Linked DNA regions of Homo sapiens: regions 1, 3 and 4 are each linked to region 2. Evidence: promoter capture Hi-C in 16 types of primary human blood cells and fetal thymus (Javierre and others, 2016). All regions are on one chromosome and are shown on one strand. The core of a region is centred on a gene start or on the middle of the fragment in contact, and the rest is flanking DNA. Distances in the headings are between cores, read along the strand shown.

Region 1 (2,718 bases), core at 187-2,686, 140 kb before region 2:
ATAGGACATTTTTATATTGTCATGTATTTTTTCAAAAAATTAGGAATTGAGAAAGAAAATGTTTAGACTATGTGTCTTTATTTTTCACGTGGGATATTGTAAATACAGCTTCAGAATCCTGAACTGGGGATGGACGGGGAGAGGAGTTAACTTTTGTCTGTGCTCTGCACATAACTAATTATATATCTTGATGATGACTTTTTATGCATTCTTCATTTGAGAAATAGGAAAATTGGTATAAAATATTATGCAAGAAAATTAATAATTTTAATATATTTTCCACTTGAAAAATAAGAGAAGTGTTGTAAATTCTTATAGTTACTTTTATACCTAACGTTCTAAGAGAAATTCTCTAGAAAATTGTATTACACAGCGAAAATATATGTATACATCACATATTGAGAAACAAGGATCCTGATAACTTATACTGGGAAAAAAATCATACCATGAAAGAAGTCCATTTTTCCTTACTCAAGTTACTTTCTTAATTTTATAAACACAAAACTCTAGTTTTTATTGATAATGATTTTCTTCAGAGCTTCTTTCACCTCCTTATTCTGGAGGCTATAGATTAAGGGATTCAACATGGGAATGATCACTGTGTAGAAGACAGAGGCCATCTTGTCTGTGTCCAGGGCATGGCTAGAGCTAGGCTGTAAGTACATAAAAATGAGGGTCCCATAGAATATGGTGACTGCCAGCATGTGAGAGCCACACGTCGAGAAAGCCTTCTGTCTTCCCTCAGCTGAATGCATCCTCAGGATGGCAGAAATGATGAACATGTAGGAGACAAAGACAATCAGAAGGGAGGAAATGAACATGATACCAGCACAGGCAAAGATCCAGAGCTGTTTGAAGCGAGTGTCTGAGCAAGTTAGCCTGAGGAGAGGCATGTCATCACAATAGAAATGGTTGACAATGTTGGAGTGGCAATAGGAGAGGCGGAAGGTGAGGATGGTGTGAAATAGTGCCATTAGGAAGCTATAGCTATAAGGAACTGCTACAAGTTGAATGCAGATTCCTGGAGTCATTACAACCATATACAATAGAGGGTTACAAATGGCCACATATCGGTCATAGGCCATGGAAGCCAGTAGCAAGGATTCTGATATCATGAAGGTGAGAAAGCAGCCCAGTTGAGTAGCACATGCATCAAAGGATATAACATTTTGTTTGTACAAGAAATTCCCAAGCATTTTGGGTGTAATGACAGAAGAGTAACAGAAATCCACAAAAGCTAGGTTGCTAAGAAAGAAGTACATTGGTGTGTTGAGACTTGTATCCGCTCTAATGAGTAGGATCAAACCCAAGTTGCCTACCACTGTGAAGAGGTAGATGGATAAGAATAGCACAAAGAGGGGCATCTTCAACTCCTGATGGTCTGTGAGGCCCACAAGAATAAACTCTGTCGCCTGGGTGCAATTGATGTGAGCCATATCTTTTCTGGCCATCTAAATGTGGAAGTAGAGAAAAGAGTTAAGTCTAAGTCATATTTTAATACTGTAAATCCTATATGTGGTGTTTTTATATTTATTGTATTGTAAAGAGTTTAATTAATTAGATTTATTTATTAATTTATTTAACTAATATAATGATTGTTAGCATACTGGAATTCTGGAAATGTGATGGAGAGCAAAAAGAATATAACACCGTATAAACATCTTTATATCTAAAGCATGAACTTACATGAATGTAGGGAATGAATCCTCACATAATCTTATCCTGTAAATTAGAGTAAAATTGATATTTGCTTTCTAAGAGATTTGGAAGTTTATGTTTCTTTACATTCAGTTTATGTCTGCTTTTTTATCTTTTATTAAAAAACTGATTTAATTACATTTTTTGCATTAATTTTTGTTTTCCTACTCTATTTAATGTTGTGTATCATCATTTTCTTATTCATTTTGGATAATTTTAAAATTGAATTATTGAATACCCAAATAGTATCAAATATCATGTCTCTCAACTCCTCTTTCTTCTCTCTCCCACCATTATATCTAGTAATGGAAAATAGAGCTTTCCTTAAAAACTTATAAATTTCACGCTTTGAAAATTACTATGCAAATAAATATATAAATAAAATAAGAGCCTGTGTTTCTTCACTGTTCTTCAGAGTTTACTAATAGCTCTTGAGTATTTACTTCTGCTCAATTAATCAAAGAATCCATTTCAGTTATTTGTGTTTTGTATTAATAAACATATTTATTGAGCAACATAATGTGGTAAGTAGTAACTTTCAAAAAATACTTATTTACCTTAATTTTATTCTAAATAAATTATATTTATTATATGTATAAGATACATATTAGATATGCAATATGTAAGTATATACTAGATATCCTAAAACCCTAATACAGATGGAACATTAATGTCTAATTATAGCAACATGGAAATTGATGGATAAGGACATAGGAACCCATAAATTCCAAATCTCTAATTGCATGTTAAAAACTGAACGTCAATTTTGAGTTAAAATAGGAAAAAGAAAAGAGAAAAGGGAGGTAAGTAAAAAGAGAATTTTTGGTCTTTGCACTGCTCAGACCAAACCCTTCTCAAGAAGACTAACTTTCAGACTCAAACTTTTTTATGACAAACTATAGAAATAAATACTTGTTATAAGATGGCATGGAACTAATAGATATATTGAGAATAATACTTTTGCTTCCCTGACATCCGCTTGTATTACATATTCTTTCGTTTTCTAGCGTAATCTGTTCC
Region 2 (2,700 bases), core at 122-2,621:
GGAAATTAAATTGGACCCTTGTCTTATACCATATAAAATAACCAACCCAAAATGGATTAAAAATTTAAACATAAAACCTGAAACTACAATTTCTAGAAGAAAACATAAGGAAAAACTTTAGGACCTTCAGCTTGGCAGTAACTTGTTGGATGTAACATAAAAATACAAGCAATGACATAAAAAGCCAAGTAACAAAACCAAAATTAGACAAGTAGGGCTACGTCAAAGTCAAAATCTTCTGCACAATGAAGAAAACCATCAGCCAAACAAAAAATATTTGTAAATGATATATCTAATAGGGGATTAATATCAAAATATATAAATTCAATAGCCACAATAACAATAATCTTATTTTAAAACTGGCAAAGGACTTGAATACATTTTTTTTCCAAAGAAGACATACAAATGGCCTTCAGATGTATGAAAAGATGTTCAACATCAGTAGTCATCAGGGAAATTCAAATCTGACACATTTTAAACAGAAGCCAAAGAACTCTATTGATTCAATAAGTAGGAGCATGCAGTGCCTTATTCCGGAATCATTTACTTTTTATTATTAAGTAAATCATCATGGTGCTATTTTGAAACAGAAGATAATTGGGGCATATTCCCCTTGGGACATCTCCTTGGATTTCATCAACAGTCAATTACAAAGATATAAACAATCTAAGTTAGCCATATTCATAGAATACCTAAATCTGCATTTGCTGTTCCACAGGTAAGAGAAAATTTCAGATAATTTGAAGAATATTTCGGCAGCTAGAACCTACAATATCAAGAATAACTATGTTTTTTTTTACTAAACTTTTTAGCTGCTAAACACCAAGAACTAAACACTTCAGTTCTGGACTATTACATATGTGAATCAAGTGTATTCATCAAAATATGATTTATTTAGAGTTATGCCTAAGAATTAAAATCCAACACTTACTAGAAAACAATAAAAAATAGAAAATATTGTATTTGTACTTATAGAGATAAATAAGAGTGCTCCTAATAGAGTATATGCTTGTATTTTTCTTATAGATAAAGATAGTTCAAAGGTCATGAATTTACCAATAAATATCAACAAAGGGCAAAAAAACATTTGACTTATTCATTTATCTGGGGTCTTGTATTTTGAAGTAATAAGGAAAACAATCAATACTTATTTTAAATTTATTTTCTGGCTTTATAATCTAGAAGTCACTTCAGATTGCTACTTATTTTATGTTTCTCTAGATTTAATGGCTTAAAAAATACAAATACATCGAGAATCATGTTTTGCTTTACCTTTATTTCCCTGAGGTCAGCAGAGGGGTAAGAGGAAGAGTGTTCCAGTTGCAGAATGAAGCCATTTATGAGGCCATGAAAAAATGCAAAAATTTCATGTACAATGAGAGAAACCTGGGATTGAATCTTGGCTCTGGAAATTGTTAGCTATGAAAGTTGCTATAAAGGTGAAATAAGGTAATGTACAAGAAATGTCTGTTCTTGCAGCAAGTGCTAAATAAATGCCTGTTATTTAGCAAACTTAGTGTTTCGTTATTACATTCACGATATTTAAAGTTTTCTCCCTTCCATTAAAATTTGTTTCATAAAAATAGATTTGCATTAATTTAAAAAGTTGATTCTATATTATTAAATCTTCAAGAATCATAGTGATTTTCTCTTTATAACTCTGAATCTTTGACTATGTGCTAATATTAACTTAATTTTTACCCAATATAACTTATTTTGGCATCTAGTAGAAATGCCTGTCTCACAAGAAATTTGGTTGAAGTATCTTATTTGCACAAAGCAAAATTAAGACAATTGTAATGTAGAAAATGGAATCATGGTAATTTGCATGTTTATTTTTGGCATAAAATGATCAAGTAATTCACAAAACTTCTTCATTCTCCAAAGAATAATTCAGAGACATTTGAATGAGCAGATGAAAAAAATCATAACTGTTCATTGGATTTAATCTTGATAGAATGTAGAACCAACTTAATTCAGCATATTCTATAATCAAAATTATTTTACATATTATATTTTATTAATGCAATTTTCCTTCAATATTTACTCCAATCTTGTGAACAAACTATTAATGTTCTCATTCTATAGACAAGTAGATATAGCAAATCATTTTGCACAATTGCTACAAGTTCTAAAATTCTGGTATTGTATTCCAATGCTCTGTCCCCTGATACAGTCTCTTGTGTATTTGGATGCCCAAAGATTGTTTAAGCCACTCATTTTTGTGTGTTTTAATATTATTTAATATATAAACAGCTTAATACAATTCAGTGGTAAATTAACCAGTAGACCTGATGATTTTAGAAACAGAATAAGTCCAGCCAACTAATGAACGTCCATTTCTTCCATTTGATTCTGCAGTGAGTGGCATGAACACATGGCTGACCAGTTTGTCACTGTCTTCTGATTCACTACTAGAGAATTATGCACTGCTGAATATATGTCGTACAGTATATACAAGAGCACAGTTAACATCCCCTTGAGTCATGGTGTTGTTCATTCTTTTTGTCATAATATGAACTGTAACTTTATGCATATCTTCAAGTTTGTTCTAGATTTCAACATGAAGAATGTCACTGAAGTTACCTTATTTGTACTGAAGGGCTTCACAGACAATCTTGAACTGCAGACTATCTTCTTCTTCCTGTTTCTAGCAATCTACCTCTTCACTCTCATGGGAAATTTAGGACTGATTTTAGT
Region 3 (2,745 bases), core at 57-2,556, 140 kb after region 2:
CTAATACAAACAATCCAGTTATGTGATATAAGCTGGGCACAGAATGACAAAAATTGCATGTTCTTAATGTAATAATTTTAAACATGTTTCAGTGTGATGGCATGCTTATATATGCATGTTCAGGTGCCTCTTATTTCCTTGTACATGTCTATGTCTGAATAATTTATATGCCGAATTGACCTCCAAATACAGTGAGTTAGTGGTCCATATAAACAAATGAAATAATAATTCAATTCACAAACTTCAAGACTCTAAGTTCTCATTTAGTTTGTGTTATGCTTTTTGAGGTTACTCTACTATTTTCCTAGTTGTTGGCATAACTGAATTCCTGAAGCCATCCACCTTTGTTTTAATTGTAACATACATAAATTTGTCATGGAAAAAGTTTTCTATGTATGACTCTCAGAAGAGCATTTTTCACATCTTTGTTCCTCAGACTGTAGATGAGTGGATTCAGCATGGGAATGACAATCGTATAGAATACAGATGCCACCTGCGCCTGGGTCAGCGATGATGTGTTATCAGGTTGCAAATAGGTGAAAATCAGAGACCCATAAAAGATAGTTACAGCCATGAGGTGGGATGCGCAGGTGGAGAAGGCCTTCTGCCTGCCTGCTGCTGACTGGATCCTCAGGATGGCTGAGATGATGATGATATAAGTGACTGTGATGATAAGGAGAGAGCTAAGAAGAGTGAATCCAGCTAAGACAAAGCTCACCATTTCTGTGCCGAATGTATCTACACAGGAGAGTGCTAAAAGAGCTGTGGTGTCACAAAAAAAATGATTGATGCTGGAATCACAGAACGCCAAACTGCTTATCACCCAGACAGATATCAGCGAGCTTGTGAAGCCTATCACATATGGCATTACTCCCAGCCAGTTGGACACTTTTTGGGACATGACTACTGAATACAGTAAGGGATTGCAGATTGCTATGTAGCGATTGTAGGCCATTGATCCCAGAAGGAAACACTCACAACACACCAATCCAACAAAAAAGTACATTTGAACAAAGCAGCCAACAAAGGAGATGGATCTCCGATTGGATTGGAAATTCACCAATGCCTTAGGTGTTACAGTAGAGGAGTAAAATATGTCAATAAATGCTAAATTGCTCAGGAAAAAGTACATAGGGGTGTGAAGCTGAGAATCCATTCTGATTAACGTGATCAGTCCCAGGTTTCCCAAAACAGTGAATAGATAAATGAAGAGAAACATCAAGAAAAGACTGACTTGTAATTCAGGGTGATTTGCAAATCCAGAGAGGATGAAGACGGTAACCTCAGTGAAATTGTTGCCAGCCATTTACATCAACTCAGGCCTTTGACTTACCTGCTGAATAACAATAAGGAAAGTTAGAGAAGGATTCAAATCTAAAGGCCCTATAATCAAATTTGACTTAGACTCCAATCATGAAAGTTTTACAAATGGAAAGTAAAATTTAATGACCTGAAGTTAGCTAGAGATTTACGGATAATTTTTATTTTTTATAAAACTGAAAACTTACAGACATTAATACAGAAAAAAACTCAAATTCACGATTGTGTAGACTAAAAAATACATGTCTGGAAAGATGTGTAGAAATTCCTCCTAAGATGTACCATTCTCTACCCCTGTCTGTCATTGGGTCTGGCAATTTATCTAATGAAATCAATTGTATCTAACAAATATAGCAAATTATCAAATGAAATTAATTGTATCTAATGAATATAGCAACTTATCTAATGAAATCAATCTGTATCTAATAAATATAGCAAGTTATCTAACAAAATGAATTGTATCTAATGAATAGAGCAGTTTATCTAATAAAAAATTCAGTGAGATAAGACCAAATGAGGGCCTTCATCTATAACATAGTTTAAATTCTTTCATGTATGTTTGTTCAAACAACATGATTGTTTCTAGATATATTGCATATATTAATCTATGACATCAGGTGCTAGCCAATTCATTGCTGAACAGCAGTTTTTAAGACAATGATATAAATAAATGTTAAAAACAGTAAAACAAACCTGATTTGTTACATTTAAAAATAAGAATTAAATTATAAGGTGGGCATGCTAGAAACTAAAGAACTTTATTGCCTAATTAACTTAACATAAATATATGACGAATAAATGCATTTGAAACTAGCCCGCCAAGCAAAGTTAAATAATCACCTTTGTTTAGACATTTAGCACTCTCCTTGAGTAACCAAATGGGACTTGATAATAATTATTATCAATAATAATAATATAACATATTATTCTTATTATATATCACATGTACTTAATCATTTAATGTGTTCCATGGTCACAGTGTTCCTATTTATCCATTCATTTACTTGACAAGCATTTATTCAATGAAGGCATTTTGTCTTGCCTGTCATGAAGGGCATTTTTCTTAAAGCCTAATGTAAGATGCAGACATTAAAAAAATAACAAGTTTCCCAATGTGAGAAACATGCAAACTATACTCACAGACAGACAGACACACAAATTTTAGGAAAAAGCAGATGAGAAAATTAGATGTACCTGGGATTCAGTCACCCAGAGGAAACATCCTATGTTTCAGCAATCTTTCACTTATTTTCAAGTTCATTATTTTTGCCTCATCTACAATGCTAAATATCAAATAACAAAAGTTGTTATTTAGTATAGAGCTCTATTTCCTGTATAATGGACCCTAAATGTTATGATGTTGATGAAAAAATGTTGATGGTTTTGATGATAGTATTAGGTACTGTATATATTACCTTTCATTGA
Region 4 (2,700 bases), core at 139-2,638, 180 kb before region 2:
ATTCATGAACGAAACAGTTATTTACTGAGAATAGCAATATATATGTATATATGTATATGTCTATGCATCTGTGTGTGTGTGTGTGTGTGTGTGTATATATATATATATATATATATATATATATATATATATGTTTTAGGAGTCTTCTATTTTACTTTGACCTAGTATATGAAAACTTAGCAATCTTTGGAAAACTACAGTTTTCATGTTTGTCTTCTGTAAGCTTTAAACATTTAGTTTGACACTTTAGCCTCGTTCTTCCATCCATCCCGGCGATTAAAGCTTAAGGAACAAACCACTACACTTGGGCAGCATAAGGATGATTAGAAATATGGGCTCTGCTGTCAGTTATACATAGTCACACTAATACTCTGTGACCATCACCAGAAAGTCGGATTTTTCCAATGTTTATAAGGAGTTATGGGTGAGAGCCTTCCTCATAGGGTAAGCAAGAGACTATCTTAATTCATGTAATGCACTCAGAATATCTGATAAGGACATCACTCAATTGCAATAGATAAAATAATAATAGTACTAATCAATGGAATATGAAAGACAAAGTGGTTAGATATGATGATCTCTCAAAGCATTTTCTAGTTAATATTTCATGATTCTATTTTTTGAAAAATAAAGCCAGGACCAAATTAAAGTTTAAATAGGCTAATATTGGGCTTAACAAGATGAATCCTCTTTTTTTCAGGGCTGGTAGAAATACAAATAATTATAATTATCCTAAAAGATGCATCAAAAACTCCACCCACCAGTATATGTTTCCATAAAACTTTTTACAACTGAATGTTTCCTTTCTCATATTTCTGATCAAATTTCTTTCCATTTCTACAGCATAAATTACTTATTCTATATAAATGTGGGAAGGAATATAGCAAATTGAATAGTTCATAGGAGCTCTAAAATTATTTTGATCTATTTTTGACATATTTTATGGAAGCACGCACAAAACCGAAAAATAAGGAAATATAAATGTGGTCACGTCTATAAATTCAATATTTTTGTTCTGTTATATATGCATGGAAAATATATAAGATTTTTAATGGCAGCAAAAACATTGAAATATTAGTGTCAGTTGTCACAAGCGGTTTCATACTATATAATTTTAACCAACATCTTCTCTTATTTTCTAAAATTACAAAGCAAAATATTTCTTAAGGTGGTCTATTTACTATTCTGCAAGTAAAAGACTCCCCTCCCTCAGGCAAGATTGGCCTCTGTCATTAGAGAGGTAAGATGTATGTTTTTGCCCACATGATGATATGATTCAAGGCAAGAAGACAACAATCATCACCTTTACCCAACACTGACAGGGAACATGAGAAGTATCTTTTTTATTTTTCAACTGCGACAAAATCTACAAAACCTGTTAGGATAAATGGCTGAAGTTAATATCATTTATGTCACTGTATTCATTCTGAAAGGAATTACCAACCGGCCAGAGCTTCAGGCCCCGTGCTTTGGGGTGTTTTTAGTTATCTATCTGGTCACAGTGCTGGGCAATCTTGGGTTGATTACTTTAATCAAGATTGATACTCGACTCCACACACCTATGTACTATTTCCTCAGCCACCTGGCCTTTGTTGACCTTTGTTACTCCTCTGCTATTACACCGAAGATGATGGTGAATTTTGTTGTGGAACGCAACACCATTCCTTTCCATGCTTGTGCAACCCAACTGGGTTGTTTTCTCACCTTCATGATCACTGAGTGTTTCCTTCTAGCCTCCATGGCCTACGATTGCTATGTCGCCATCTGTAGTCCCCTGCATTATTCAACACTGATGTCAAGAAGAGTCTGCATTCAACTGGTGGCAGTTCCATATATATACAGCTTCCTGGTTGCCCTCTTCCACACCGTTATCACTTTCCGTCTGACTTACTGTGGCCCAAACTTAATTAACCATTTCTATTGTGATGACCTCCCCTTCTTAGCTCTGTCCTGCTCAGACACACACATGAAGGAAATTCTGATATTTGCCTTTGCTGGCTTTGATATGATCTCTTCCTCTTCCATTGTCCTCACCTCCTACATCTTTATTATTGCCGCTATCCTAAGGATCCGCTCTACTCAGGGGCAACACAAAGCCATTTCCACCTGTGGCTCCCATATGGTGACTGTCACTATTTTCTATGGCACACTGATCTTTATGTACCTACAGCCCAAATCAAATCACTCCTTGGACACAGACAAGATGGCTTCTGTATTTTACACAGTGGTGATCCCCATGTTAAACCCCCTAATCTATAGTCTAAGGAACAAAGAAGTGAAAGATGCCTCAAAGAAAGCCTTGGATAAAGGTTGTGAAAACTTACAGATATTAACATTTTTAAAAATAAGAAAACTTTATTAAACAAGCAGGAAATAAATCAAACTTTTTCTTGTAATTATTTCCCAATGAACTGAAAATGTAGCTGTTACTTTAATGGACCTTGACATTTTCTGCAAGAACCAGGCAGATCATGAAAAATCAGTACGAATTAAAGCATTCAATTCAGGCCATCACAGTCTTGGCAGACCACTGAAACCACGTTCAAATACAAACAGAGACACACTCATATATGCAAACACTCATAGGTGTATTTAAAGCAAAGGCAGCAGCATGTTTTTGTTAGAGTTTGGGATGCTGAAACAAGATTGAGTTTGAACACTATTTCCTTCATATTAGCTCTGCAACCTTGGAAAATTGAG

What was found. The method cuts DNA at HindIII sites, captures the fragments that hold promoters and counts their contacts. A CHiCAGO score of 5 or more calls a contact.
Region 1: the fragment with the promoter of OR8U1 here is called in contact with the fragment with the promoter of OR5T2 in region 2 in 6 of 17 cell types (neutrophils, naive CD8 T cells, activated CD4 T cells and 3 more); the score reaches 8.6 in neutrophils.
Region 3: the fragment with the promoter of OR8I2 here is called in contact with the fragment with the promoter of OR5T2 in region 2 in 5 of 17 cell types (monocytes, non-activated CD4 T cells, neutrophils and 2 more); the score reaches 7.5 in monocytes.
Region 4: a contact is called between the fragment with the promoter of OR8U3 here and the fragment with the promoter of OR5T2 in region 2, in 8 of 17 cell types (neutrophils, monocytes, fetal thymus and 5 more). The highest score is 9.1, in neutrophils.

Annotation. Positions count from the first base shown.
Region 1 is chr11:56,374,342-56,377,059 of GRCh38, reverse strand. OR8U1 (olfactory receptor family 8 subfamily U member 1) reads right to left here and starts at 1,436. Exons shown (of 1, transcript NM_001005204.1): 1 at 507-1,436. The coding sequence starts at 1,436. The coding sequence ends at 507. The HindIII fragment of the contact is 6,958 bases long and covers 1-2,718 here.
Region 2 is chr11:56,232,926-56,235,625 of GRCh38, reverse strand. OR5T2 (olfactory receptor family 5 subfamily T member 2) reads left to right here and starts at 1,371. Exons shown (of 2, transcript NM_001004746.4): 1 at 1,371-1,449; 2 at 2,362-2,700. The coding sequence starts at 2,564. The HindIII fragment of the contact is 5,726 bases long and covers 1-2,700 here.
Region 3 is chr11:56,091,869-56,094,613 of GRCh38, reverse strand. It overlaps OR8I2 (olfactory receptor family 8 subfamily I member 2), which reads right to left and starts at 1,306. Exons shown (of 1, transcript NM_001003750.1): 1 at 374-1,306. The coding sequence starts at 1,306. The coding sequence ends at 374. The HindIII fragment of the contact is 14,451 bases long and covers 1-2,745 here.
Region 4 is chr11:56,416,920-56,419,619 of GRCh38, reverse strand. It overlaps OR8U3 (olfactory receptor family 8 subfamily U member 3), which reads left to right and starts at 1,388. Exons shown (of 1, transcript NM_001004744.1): 1 at 1,388-2,362. The coding sequence starts at 1,388. The coding sequence ends at 2,362. The HindIII fragment of the contact is 8,358 bases long and covers 285-2,700 here.